Regions from separate parts of the Homo sapiens genome. Here region 1 is linked to region 2. Evidence: promoter capture Hi-C in human tissues and cell types (Jung and others, 2019). All regions are on one chromosome and are shown on one strand. Each heading gives the region's core, a stretch centred on a gene start or on the middle of the fragment in contact. The rest is flanking DNA. Distances are from core to core; before and after follow the strand shown.

Region 1 (5,984 bases), core at 1,605-4,104, 100 kb before region 2:
TGCACTTGCTGCAGCAAGGCCCATCTGGAGGCATACCTGCACATCTACCACACACAGCCACACCTCACTGTGAAGGAGTCTGGAAAATTAGTCCAGCTGTTATCTAAGAGGAGGGGAAAGAGATTTGAGTGACAGCTAGCAGTCAGGCAAGATCTTCTCCAAACTGATTTGACAAAAGAGCCCTGTACTTGGGAGTTGAATGCTATAGAAGACAGTTTGCTCTTCAGTTAGCCTTGTGTTGACTCCATCTATTAGAACCCTGCGCGGAGCAGGGGTGATGGATACCAGGTACCTAACCCTAGCAACACTGCCTGTGAAGTGCCTAGACAGAAGGTGCCTGATCAACGTGGCTTCTGTCTCCAGATTTTGTTGCTGAATTGGGCTTCTTTGAGAGTATGAACAGCCCCAACCAGAGCCCACCTAATCAGTGCTCAGTGATTTATTAAGTAAAAGTTACACAACTGCCCTTGTTTATTATGCATTGACCTCTGAGGTGCCAAGAGCCTATGATCACTTTCCTGGTCCAAGGAGATCTAGGAATAAATCCCCCACTTTGTACCAAGTGACCTACTTTTCTTACTCAACTGTCACTTCTGAGGTTCCAGTGGTCAAATGAAAAGTTGGGAAGCTCTCTGTGCACGTCACAGCTGAGGATGCAGCTGCCAAGCTCTCCCTGCTCTGACCCTTCAAAGGAGGGCATTGGGAAATTCAAACCAAACACAAATCGTGGCCACCCAGGGAGACTGCCTGGGTTATTGCTCTGTTATCTAGAACCACAAGGGACCAAGATTGGGGTACCAAACCCCACACTGGTGATTCTGAGCAGGGAGCTTGGCAGGCTGCCAGCTGAGGTGGATGAGGAGCAAGCAGGTTGCAAAGGAAGTCCCCCCAGGATGGGCAAATCTGGGCCCACCCATCTTCTGCCTGCCACCCCTCAGTGGAAGCCTGGCAGAGAGTGGATGGCTGTCAGAAGATGCTGATGGCCCTGTGGCAAGCCCCAGCATGTTCCCGTTAAAGATCAAAGGAACCATCACAGAACTGGAGAGAGAAGACCATCTTTTGCTCAGGCCCTAGCTCATCCTGTGACCTTGGACAAGTAACCTCACAGAGCCTCCATGATTCATCCATTAAGTAGGGTGAGTATATGTAGTCTACCTCCTTTCTGGCACTTTAAATCCTTGAGTCCATGGGCTCCCAGGGTCTGTGTACATCCTCCTGGAAGTTAATAGCTTTTCCTGTCGTTTTTCTTTTTGATTTCAATAACCTAAAAAGATTTCCACACACCAACTTTGGTTCCCCCAGAGGACCATGTTATATGGAGAACTGGGTTAGTTAGTTCCCGGTCACCCAGAATCACAAGATGTGTCGTGGTTTCACGGTTTCAGACGCAGCATTTGTAAGCATGCCAAACAAATGAATGAAGGTGGGCTTGTTTCCTACGGCTGCTATAACAAATTACTACAAATTCAGAGGCTTAAAACCATACAAATTTATTATCCCACAGTTCTGGAGATGAAAAGTGCAAAATAGGTCTTACTGGGCTAAAATCACGGTGTCAGAAGGGCTGCGTCCCTTTTGGAGGCTCTAGGGGAGAAACAGCTTCCTGCCTTTTCCAGCTTCCAGATGCTGCCCACTGGCCTTGGCTGGTGACCCCTTTCCTCATCTTCAAAGCCACAGGGTGTCATCAACTCTCCTGCCTCCCTCTTTCACTCACAAGGGCCTCTGTGATTACCTGGGGCCCATTCAGATAATCCAGAATAATTTACCCATCTCAAAATCCTTCATTCAATCATATCGGCAGAGTCCCACTTGCCATGTAAGGTAACATTCACAGCTTCGTGAGACTGGGGCATGAACATCTTTGGGGGCCAGTATTTTTCCTACCACAGAAAGATTTTTATTATCTGAATAGTTGAATTGAAGACAAAATGGACATAATAATAAGGAATGGTCAGAATGGCATACTGAGTCTTTCCCATGTATTCACTGATTTTCTACAACAGTACAACTATCATTCCTGTGATTTTTAAAATGTAAATGCTATTTAAAGTATTTGAAAACAATTTCAGATGTTCTGCTCTTCCCAATACAGAAATAATATTTAAAATGAAAGAAAAGCTTTATATGCTTCATGGTTTCTTCCCTTTTCTAGATTTCCCAATGCATTAAGATGTCTTATTAAAAGGAATAAAATAGATCACATGTACAGACATGGACAAATGTCCAAAATACACAGTTAAGTATAAAAAGCAACCTGCAAATCAGCATGTGTACTGTGATCTCATCTTCATAAGATAATAGATTTATATGTTTGTTTCTATGGAGAAAATACCCACAAGAATATAAGCCAAACGGTTAACCACATTATCCTGGGGGCTGAGGAAGCAGGGGGAAGGCAGCAGTAGGCTTCCTGAGCCATCATGCCTGCAATGTAATATATAGAATAAGCTCATATTATTTTTTATAACCAGGAAAATATTAGGACAGTGCTTCTCTGTGTTTAAAGACTAAGGGGATCTTCCAAAATCCCCTTTTCGTTGATGGAGAATAGCATCAATCAGAATTTCAGAATTCTGCCCAACCAATACGAGCCTTAGGGCCTCGCCTCTAAGTGCTTCCTATTAGCTCCTTTCCAGTTCCTCCTTAGAAATGTGCAGATATGCCACCTGCCATTGCAATCACAGGGAATGTAGGTCAGGTAATTAGTAACCAGACTTTGTTTTGGAAAACACTCAGTACATGCCAGTAAAATAGGTCAGTTCCTACTCCTCGGGGCAGAACCCCCGAGCTTTCAAGAGGGAGGGACCCTGCAGGTCACTGAACATAAGCCCCCATTGTCATACCCTGAGGCCCAGAACTAGGTCACCAGCTAGCAAGCAGCAGAGCTTGGATTCAAGGCAGATGCGTGGGACTCCCAAAGTCACATTCTTCCCACTCGGCTATTCTGTGGTCAACTACTGAATAAGATCCTTCCTGGGATTCCAATCTGGATTCCTCAGAGTTTGCTGGGCCCAGATGTGCAGTAATGGCCCGCTCATGCCTCTCTTCACCTTGGGCTGGGACACTGGGGATTGTGGGGAGTGATGGGGAGCATTTAGCGGTTAGCTCAGAGATGCATGTGTAACAAATGGATCAAAAGTTTGAGGGGCTGGGCTGTTCCCATTGCAAAGCCACTTCATCTTTGTTAACGCTGTAGTCTTGACAATTTCTTAGGGAGCCTTGGTTCCCTAAAGTTTTACAACCAGGCCTTTCTCCTGACAGAACTGAATGCGATATGATTCATGGACCTCAGAATGGTTCTGGCCAATGAGAACATGGGTGCAGACAAATCACTGAGGTTGTTTACTTCACCCACCCAGCACCAGGTGAGCTGGAAGGGTCACAGAAAAAGCCCGAGATCCACCCAGAGTCTCAGGATAGGGCATTTGCCTGGGGCTCACAAAGACCTGGAGTCTGTGCAGAAAGGCAGTCCAGCTGATAACCAGCCTGGAGGCACCACCTGGCACTTTCTTGCAGTCCAGCTGATAACCAGCCTGGAGGCACCACCTGGCACTTTCTTATCATACCCTTTGCTGGTGTTGGTGCAGCCACCATACTCTCCCCCAACCATGAAAGGGCATCCAGCACAGGATGATGGGGACATAGAGCATTAGTGAGCAGCACAGTATTGCTTCTGTGTGACACCCCAAGGGGCCAGAAAAAAAACAGGCTTTCACTACTTATGAACAAAGTCTGTCCCCAGGAAGTCATCAAGCTTTGTCTCCAATGAACTCGAATCCCAGTGACACCATATGGATCCAGCCACTGCACTGCTTCATTCTCTTGAAAGCTGGAAGCATGTGCTTTCTTCTACAGGGATGAAATGAATAAGAACTAGAGCACCTATTCAGATTCAGCCTCCTCTCACAACCAAAGCACCTCCTCCAGAGCTGTCTAGAGTTTTGCTCTCATCAGTTCCACCTTTCAAGGACACAACAATGGGGGAAACAATCAGATCATCTCTGTACCAAAAGGCTGGTCCTTCCATCCCACCCAAGAGCACAGAGAAGGCCTTGAAAAAGGAGGCCTCCCACTCCCTCACTGGCTAAAAAGCCAGTTTTGATAAACGGGGAGACAGTCCCCACCCAGGTCTTCTACCTAAAATCCTATTTGTGATGGCAGTGTTGGAGTGTTGGGAGGATACAAGACCAGGTCTGGGACTTCAGGAGGTGTTATTTTTCAATGGAAGGATTGTGTTCCTTCTGAGCTTCTATATGCAGATGCAAAGGGGCTATGGCGAAGTCATTTTTGTGCCACTGAAAGTTGATTTGTTGAAGGTCTTCTCTTTCTTGCCTCTTACTGTGGCTGGCTTTGAGGAAGGATGGAACCCATAGAACCAGAGACCCTCTAGGCTGAGTTAGAACTCAGGGACCACCCAGGAGGGAACATTCATACCACCGGAAACTTTGTAAGCAAGATTGCAAAGGAGATGGATGATCTTAGGGCAAATAAAGCCCATAAAGATCTGGTCACCTTTTCAGGAGAGTAACTGCTTTTGCTGCACCAGATTTTCCATTTAGCCATCCAGGATATGCGAGAAAACACAAAAAGGCAAGTGGTTCCCTGGGTCCCCAGCCACCTTGCCAGCCTTCCCCCTCCCTCTCCAGCCCTGGAGTGGGATGAAGCATCACAGCATTCCCTTCCCTTCCCTTTCCTTCCCAAGGTTTGAAGATGACCTGGTCTAGGGGAGTGGACTACGGGATGAACTAAACTAGTCCAGGGCCCTGAGTAGGTGCAGAGAAGGGTGTGTAGAAGAGAAGCAGGAGCCTGGGGAACACTGCTTGACTGACTCACCTGAGGCATTCCAGTGCACTGGCAGACAGGCCCCATGCTGATGGAACTGTCCTCAAATGAGGCCTCTAGACAAAGAGCCTTTCATTCCTTTCTGTAGTCTGAATTTTCTTTTTTTTTGAGATGGAGTTTTGCTCTTGTTGCCCAGGCTGGAGTGCAATGGTATGATCTTGGCTCACTGCAACCTCCGCCTCCTGGGTTCAAGCGATTCTTCTGTCTCAGCCTCCCGAGTAGCTGGGATTACAAGCACGGGCCACCACGCCCGGCTGATTTTTGTATTTTTAGTGGAGATGGGGTTTCATCATGTTGGCCAGGCTGGTCTCAAACTCCTGACCTCACGTGATCCGCCCATCTCAGCCTCCCAAAGTGCTGGGATTACAGGCGTGAGCCACTGTACCCAGCTGAACTTTCTAATACATCACTGTGAGCCTACAGTAGAGAACTGAGTGAATTTTCCTTGTGATTTTGTGTGTACATGCACTATCCACAGAAGGAGAATAGAGAGGAAGATTGCTCAGCCCTCACATCAGTTTTATGGATGGCACAGGCAGGAACAAAGAGTCTTTCTGGGACCATGATCAGCTAAACACAGAAAGCAGGTGGGAGAGGAGCTGCTTCATTGAAATGAGGGTGAGGGTTTCAGGGCTCCTACCACCCAGCTTCTTACTTCTCTCATGGCCTCTTTGCAGAACTTCAGACCTTCTAGAGCCCTAATAAGTAGAAAAAGTCCCCCATCTAATCCAGCTCCTCAGTGTGAGGCTGCAGGAGGAGCCTAAGGGGAGGAGAGCATGACCTGCCCCATCACACACCTGACAAGGGCCACACTAGGCTCCACCCTATTTCCCCAGGAAGATTGACCTTTACAAAGCTGCTCTTCCTCGAATGGAACCAAGTTGGAAAACACTCTGCAGAATATTATCCAGGAGAACTTCCCCAACCTAGCAAGGCAGGCCAACATTCAAATTCAGGAAATACAGAGAACTCCACAAAGATACTCCTTGAGAAGAGCAACTCCAAGACACATAATTGTGAGATTCACCAAGGTTGAAACGAAGGAAAAAATGTTAAGGGCAGCCAGACAGAAAGGTCGGGTTACCCACAAAGGGAAGCCCATCAGACTAACAGCTGATCTCTCAGCAGAAACTCTACAAGCC
Region 2 (5,780 bases), core at 1,198-3,697:
ACAACGCGCTTCTTGGCTTGGTTGTGTGAGCACTTCCAGTCATTCTGTGATTTGGCTTTGTGTTTTATATTGAGACATGATTTCAGGGGCTTTAATTTATTCACAAAATGTCGTCGTTGAAATTCATCGTACGGGCCCAGGAAACTCTTCACAGGTGGTGAATGTGCCAAGCAAAGCCTCATGGCCACATCCACGGGCATGACCGAACTTGTCAAAGGACGTGGATCTAAAACCTGGATCATTCTGGAATGCAAAAAGAAGAGGGATTATCACCTGGATCGGAAATGCTCTTCCCCAGTGCCAAATACATATGTACTATTTTTGTGCTGACTGAATTATAGCCAGTGCACTAGATATCAGGCAGGTGCTATCATATGTAGTAAAAGAGAACAGTATTAAGTGATCAGATCTTCTATGTCTACCTCTACCCTTGGCCGGCTAAAGGCTATTAATTGCTTAAAACACTTAGAGGGTGATGGGGGTCTCAGTTTCCCCATCTGAGAAATAAAAGGGTTCGATTTGATTATCTCCAAGGCAGCCTTGAGAACTGTGTGCTCTGTTCTGGACCAGTGGTCCTCAAACCTGTCTGGTCACTATGTCTAGGGAATTCATTTTCTTTCTTTCTTGTCTTTCCTCCTTTCCTCCTTCCCTCCTTCCTTCCTTTCTTCCTCTCTCTCTCTCTTTCTCTTTCTTCTTTCTTTCCAATTCCTGGGACTCAGAACTACTGAGGCAGAACTTCTGGGGCTAGGGCCAAGGGATGGGTATGTTCTTAAAGCTTCCCAGGTGATTCTAATGACCAGACAGGTTCAGGAGCCACAGTTCCAGACCCTCTGCTCCCTCTGGCTACGTTGGCTTATTTTGCTGCTAAATTGATTGACACTTCTCTGGTAAGGTAATTCACTTGAAAAAAAAAAAATAACATGCAACAGTTTTGAGAGTGAGAAGGCTAGAGAAGAAGTCAAAGAATCATCTTTGCACTTTGATTATCATGCTCTTATTTTTCACAAATAACCACTGAAATACAAGCCAACAATTCATATGCACTTAAAAACTATATAATTGATAATTCACCTAAAGAGATGCCCATGACAAGTCCACATTTAAGTGGAAAAACTGATTACCTGAAAGTTGGAGTGTTTTAAAATATACATTTTATATATACAAACTTATAAATATTGAAAAACTCTATAGGAAATACACCTTTCCTAATAATTTAATAATTATTATTTCTGGGTGATAGGATTATAGATTATCTATTTTCGTTTTTGTTCTTTTTTGGCATTTTCTAATAGACATTTATAAGTAGAAAGACAATAAAACCATTTAAAGTTTTAAACATGACTATGCTCAGCAATATTAAACCAAGAAGCATCTATAAAGAAGACTTTTCTCTGACCTTTAGCCCTCATCATATATTTCCAAGCTTATGGTATTAAGATTTTTTTCCCTATCTTAGCCTTACAAGTAAGAGGTGTGTGTATACTGTACACGACATTTCTCAGTCTGGCTTTAGTAACTCTCCTCACAGCAGCTCTAAACATGTATGCAAGTGGTCATTATCACAAAAGTGTGTAATAACACTCGCAGAATTTACTGTGTTAGCTCTGGGGTTTTTCTGGGAGATCTGCAAACTTAGAACAAACAAATGAAAGCTAAAGCTATATTTGTGGGTCTAATAATAGTTAATAGGCAGGATTTTTAGAGAAGTCTTCTGCTAAGCTATGTCTGGAGAAGCTATTTAAAGTAGTTTTATGGGAGGTTTTTTTTGGTTTTTTTGTTTTTTTTTTTTTACTTTTTGCATTTATAGAAAGACAGTTTTAGTTTGGGTGATTTCCTTGGAACTTTAAGTCCTGGACAAGAGTTAAAAGTAATCGTTTGCTCAAACTCTTGAGATTTTGCTATGGCAAACTGTGATAAGAAGGACGAATGAATGCAAACGTCGTCCTGTAATTTTTTTCCTCCAAGCTAAACCACCTAACCAGCAATGTCAGAGTGCTGTTCTCACCACTTCAGCTGCCCGAGTCTTTGGGACATTTGTGCAGGACCAAAAGAACAGCCGCATCCATGAGAAAATCCTAACTCAAGCTGATTCACGTTAAGATAATTTCTGCTTTAAGATGCTGATTACTAAAATAGGCTCTGCTTAAGAAATAGAGCCAAATTTCTACACCTCCAAGGCCTCTCGGTTGCCAGATTCAACTACGCAGTCAGTCCACTTGTCCTCCCCCTGGGGTGTCCATTTCCAGAGATGATAGAACTGAAACGCCCCCCAACTTCCCCACAGCTGCGCGTTCCCCTGTGTTCCTAGCGCGCAGAGTTGCAGCGAACCTACCTGGTGCAGCTCATTAGGCAGAGAGGCGGCGGACCCTAAAAGCCAGCACCCGCTGCCTGCACAAATTCGAACCACAGCTCCAGGCCTTGCCCCCGCGGCGGTCGCTGGGAGAGACTGAGGGCCCGGCGCCTAGAGGCCGCTTATCTGCTCCCAAGCACGTGACCCGATCCCTGGGACCAATCGCCGGGCCTCGAGCCCCAGGGCGCGACCAACCAGCGCCCAGCTGGGGCGCCAGCCCTCGCCCCGGCAACGTGATCGCCCCGGGGCGAGACGTGCAGAGAGCTATCTGGGCATCGCGGGGAGGTTCTGGGACTCCGCGGCCAGCTGGAACCAGCCGCGTAACGGGAACCCTGGGCTAGGGGCCGGGCAGGCACGTACCGCATGCAGCGGGCGCCGGCCAAGAGAGAGCGCAGCCAGCCTCGCCCAGGCGGGGCGCCAGTGCCTCAGGCTTGGGGCGGCTGTTACTTGGGAATAGCTTTGTGGGTCACTGCGGGTGAATCTGCACACAGAAGATGTGGCTCAAACCGAATGTGTATCGCATTTGAAATGTTTATATCGTTCATTACCCGGTGTATCCGCATTTCTCCCTCACCTTAGCCTGCGCGATCCCAAACTGGCTGCATGCTTTTCGATTAGTATGAGTTCACAGATGCACCACACAGTAGACAGCTGCCGGGAATTACCAACTTATCTAACAAATGTTGTTAGGAAAGCATACGAGCCCCATAAAACACCAAGGTGGCATTTAATTAAAAGACACTTCGTATTTCTGTCTATTCTTCAATTTTCTCCCCTGCGGGGAACACTAAAGCCGGAAGTGAAATGACCCTTTTCACACATACAGCCGGTCAAGAGGCAGCAGTCAACCCAAACCCCTTACTCAATTCTGACGTCCTTTGGCAGTGGTGTGGAAATCAAAATGTTAAAATAAAATTTAAAAAATCACGCCGTATGTTTCATGGGCCTTCTGAGCCACTCACTTTCGCTGAAGTTTCATTATTTTGATTAGTTTGAAGAATTTTTAGACCATCATTTACAACTGTAAAATTAAATGTCTAAGTCAAGTCTAAATTATTTTTATAAAACCCACATCCTAGTTTTGCTCCCCTAATTGAGCTATCCATTAGTCAATTAAAATATACAAAAATTCCTATGTCTTTTAAACAACTGTCAAACAGTGGAATTGTTAAAATTATTAGAGTGAAGAAAAAAATCACACTGAATATCACTGGGAAAGGGACTTCATGCCTGGGTTTTATTTTTGAAATGAAATATCTAACTAATGGCAGGTCTTCTAGCCCCTTTAGCTCAACCAAAACTAGCTGGAAGGTCTTTGGATTGACACTTACTAGCTACACGAATCTAGGCAAGTTCTAACCTCAGTTTCCTCATGTGTAAAACAGAGATAGTAACGTTCTGAAGATGAAGTAAGATGGTGCCAATGAACAGACTCAGCACGATGCCCAGTGCCTGTGTTCCACCCGGGCTAGTTCCCAAGTTTCTACTTGATCTCTCAGCTAGAGTTTTTACTCTATCACCTCAAGGCGCCTGGTGCCTGAGCTAAAATATTGAGAATAGCTGCTGCTTGTTGAGCCTTTACTCTGTGCCAAACACTATGTGCTATCAATTCAATCCTCACAACAACCCTATGTGATATGTCCAATTATTAATCCCATTTTAGAGAAAAGAAAACGGAGACACTGAATGGTCAGGAAATCTGCCCAGTGGATCACTTGAGGCCAGGAGTTCAAGACCAGCCTGGCCAACATGGTGAAACCCTATCTCTACTAAAAATACAAAAATTAGCCGGGCATGGTGGTGCACACCTGTACTCTCAGCTACTCTGGAGGCTGAGGCAGGAGAATCGCTTGAACCCGGGAGGCGGAGGTTGCAGTGAGCTGAGATTGCACCACTGCACTCCAGCCTGGGCAACAGAGCGAGACTCTATCTCGAAAACAAAAAACAAAAAAAAAACCTGCCCAGGTTCTCACAGGTAGAGCAGGGATTAGAGCCTGGCTGATACCAGAGCAATAACCGCTGCACCATATTGTCTTATTTTAATGACCCATCAATGGTTAGAATTATGGAGGTAGGAGGTGATAGGCATCAAACTCTTTATTTCACAGATGAGGAACTGAAAGCTTAGACAGGTCAAGCTGCTTGCCAGGGGCTGGCTAGGTCTGAGCCAAAACTAGAACCCTGGGTATTCTTTTCCTCTACCCATGATTATATGTTGAGCTAAATAGTAAATATTACCAGTTAAAACTATGGAGAAACATGAATAACAATTTATGGTGATCGCATTTTGAGGGAAAGGTATCCATGCATAGAAAACAGAATGTGCTCTACAGAAATGTGAACAGTTCATTTTGGAATGGTGAGATTATGAGTGATTAAAAATGTCTTCGTTGTTTTGCTGCTCTGTTGTTTTTCTTAATTTTTCTACAATGAACATACACGACCTAATTAAGAAATAATTTTTCAAGGGCGTTAAAACTCTGGGATTCAACTAACACATATAGCGTACTGCTAGGTGCCAAGAACCGTGGTGGAAATTTTCACATGCTTGTGCCATTTACTCACACCACCCTTTCAGCCTGTTCCATTCATACAGCTTTCTCTCCTGCCCCCTGGTGTTGACTAATGCCATAGAAGTCACTCTCCCTTTCAGCTCCTTCAAATGGAAGATTCAGGGAGACCATGCTTTCTCCTAAAAGGACTCAACACTCACTCAATAAACCTCTAAATTGGATGATCCAGGCTTTTCACTTCTGTCTCCTTCCCAGCTTTTGCTCCCCTTCATTATTGGATGAGAGAAACTAGGATGGAATCAGTGTTCTTAGTTGTAGGTTGCACCAATGAAGACAGAGTAGAAAGGAATCGTGGGGAGTTGTACTATTATTCGTAGGATTTCTCCCACTGTGGTTTGGCAGCATCTAAACATTGCTTGGTCCTACCCATCTTAACAATCAATCTATCAGCAGGAAATTATTGAGCTATGCAGTAGTTCCAGCTCCATGCCAGGGGTTACAAAGTCTGAGCAGTCATAATCCTTTGACCTTGAGGAGGTTACAATCATTATTACAGAAAAACAAATTCATAGAATACCCAGCAGACATTTTAAGAAGCTACTAAGCAAGGAGCTGATAATTGTGGGGCTTACACAAGTGGGTCTCTTACAGCATTCACTCAACACGTTGCCTGAGAGCTGCCTTTGGAAAAACACCCTGGGGGGTTGCCAAGTTGCCAACTCATTTTCTGCAAGCTTGTCTTTTTTCAGTGCCTAATCAAGAAAGTACTTGAGAATTCAGCCTCATAGTTATTAATATAAAAATGTCAGTACTTTAACCACAGTTAGTGGTAACTGAGAGAAACCTCGTAAGTGATCTTGAAGATCACTTACGGAGTTTCAGTGAAAGAGTCAGGGAAGTTGCGAACTGGTTTTTTT

What was found. Contacts are between HindIII fragments. The study calls those that stand out against the background at their distance.
Region 1: a contact is called between a fragment that was not itself captured here and the fragment with the promoter of PPP1R3C in region 2, in 3 of the 25 tissues and cell types used here (IMR-90 fibroblasts, aorta and bladder).

Annotation. Positions count from the first base shown.
Region 1 is chr10:91,525,470-91,531,453 of GRCh38, forward strand. All of the region lies in intron 2 of HECTD2-AS1 (HECTD2 antisense RNA 1), which reads right to left. Among named protein-coding and RNA genes, the nearest start is that of HECTD2-AS1, 83 kb to the right of the region's middle. The HindIII fragment of the contact is 4,109 bases long and covers 801-4,909 here.
Region 2 is chr10:91,630,624-91,636,403 of GRCh38, forward strand. PPP1R3C (protein phosphatase 1 regulatory subunit 3C) reads right to left here and starts at 2,448. Exons shown (of 2, transcript NM_005398.7): 1 at 2,333-2,448; 2 at 1-243. The coding sequence starts at 2,346. RefSeq lists enhancers at 2,079-2,580, 2,581-3,080 and a silencer at 2,415-2,554. The HindIII fragment of the contact is 3,936 bases long and covers 1,100-5,035 here.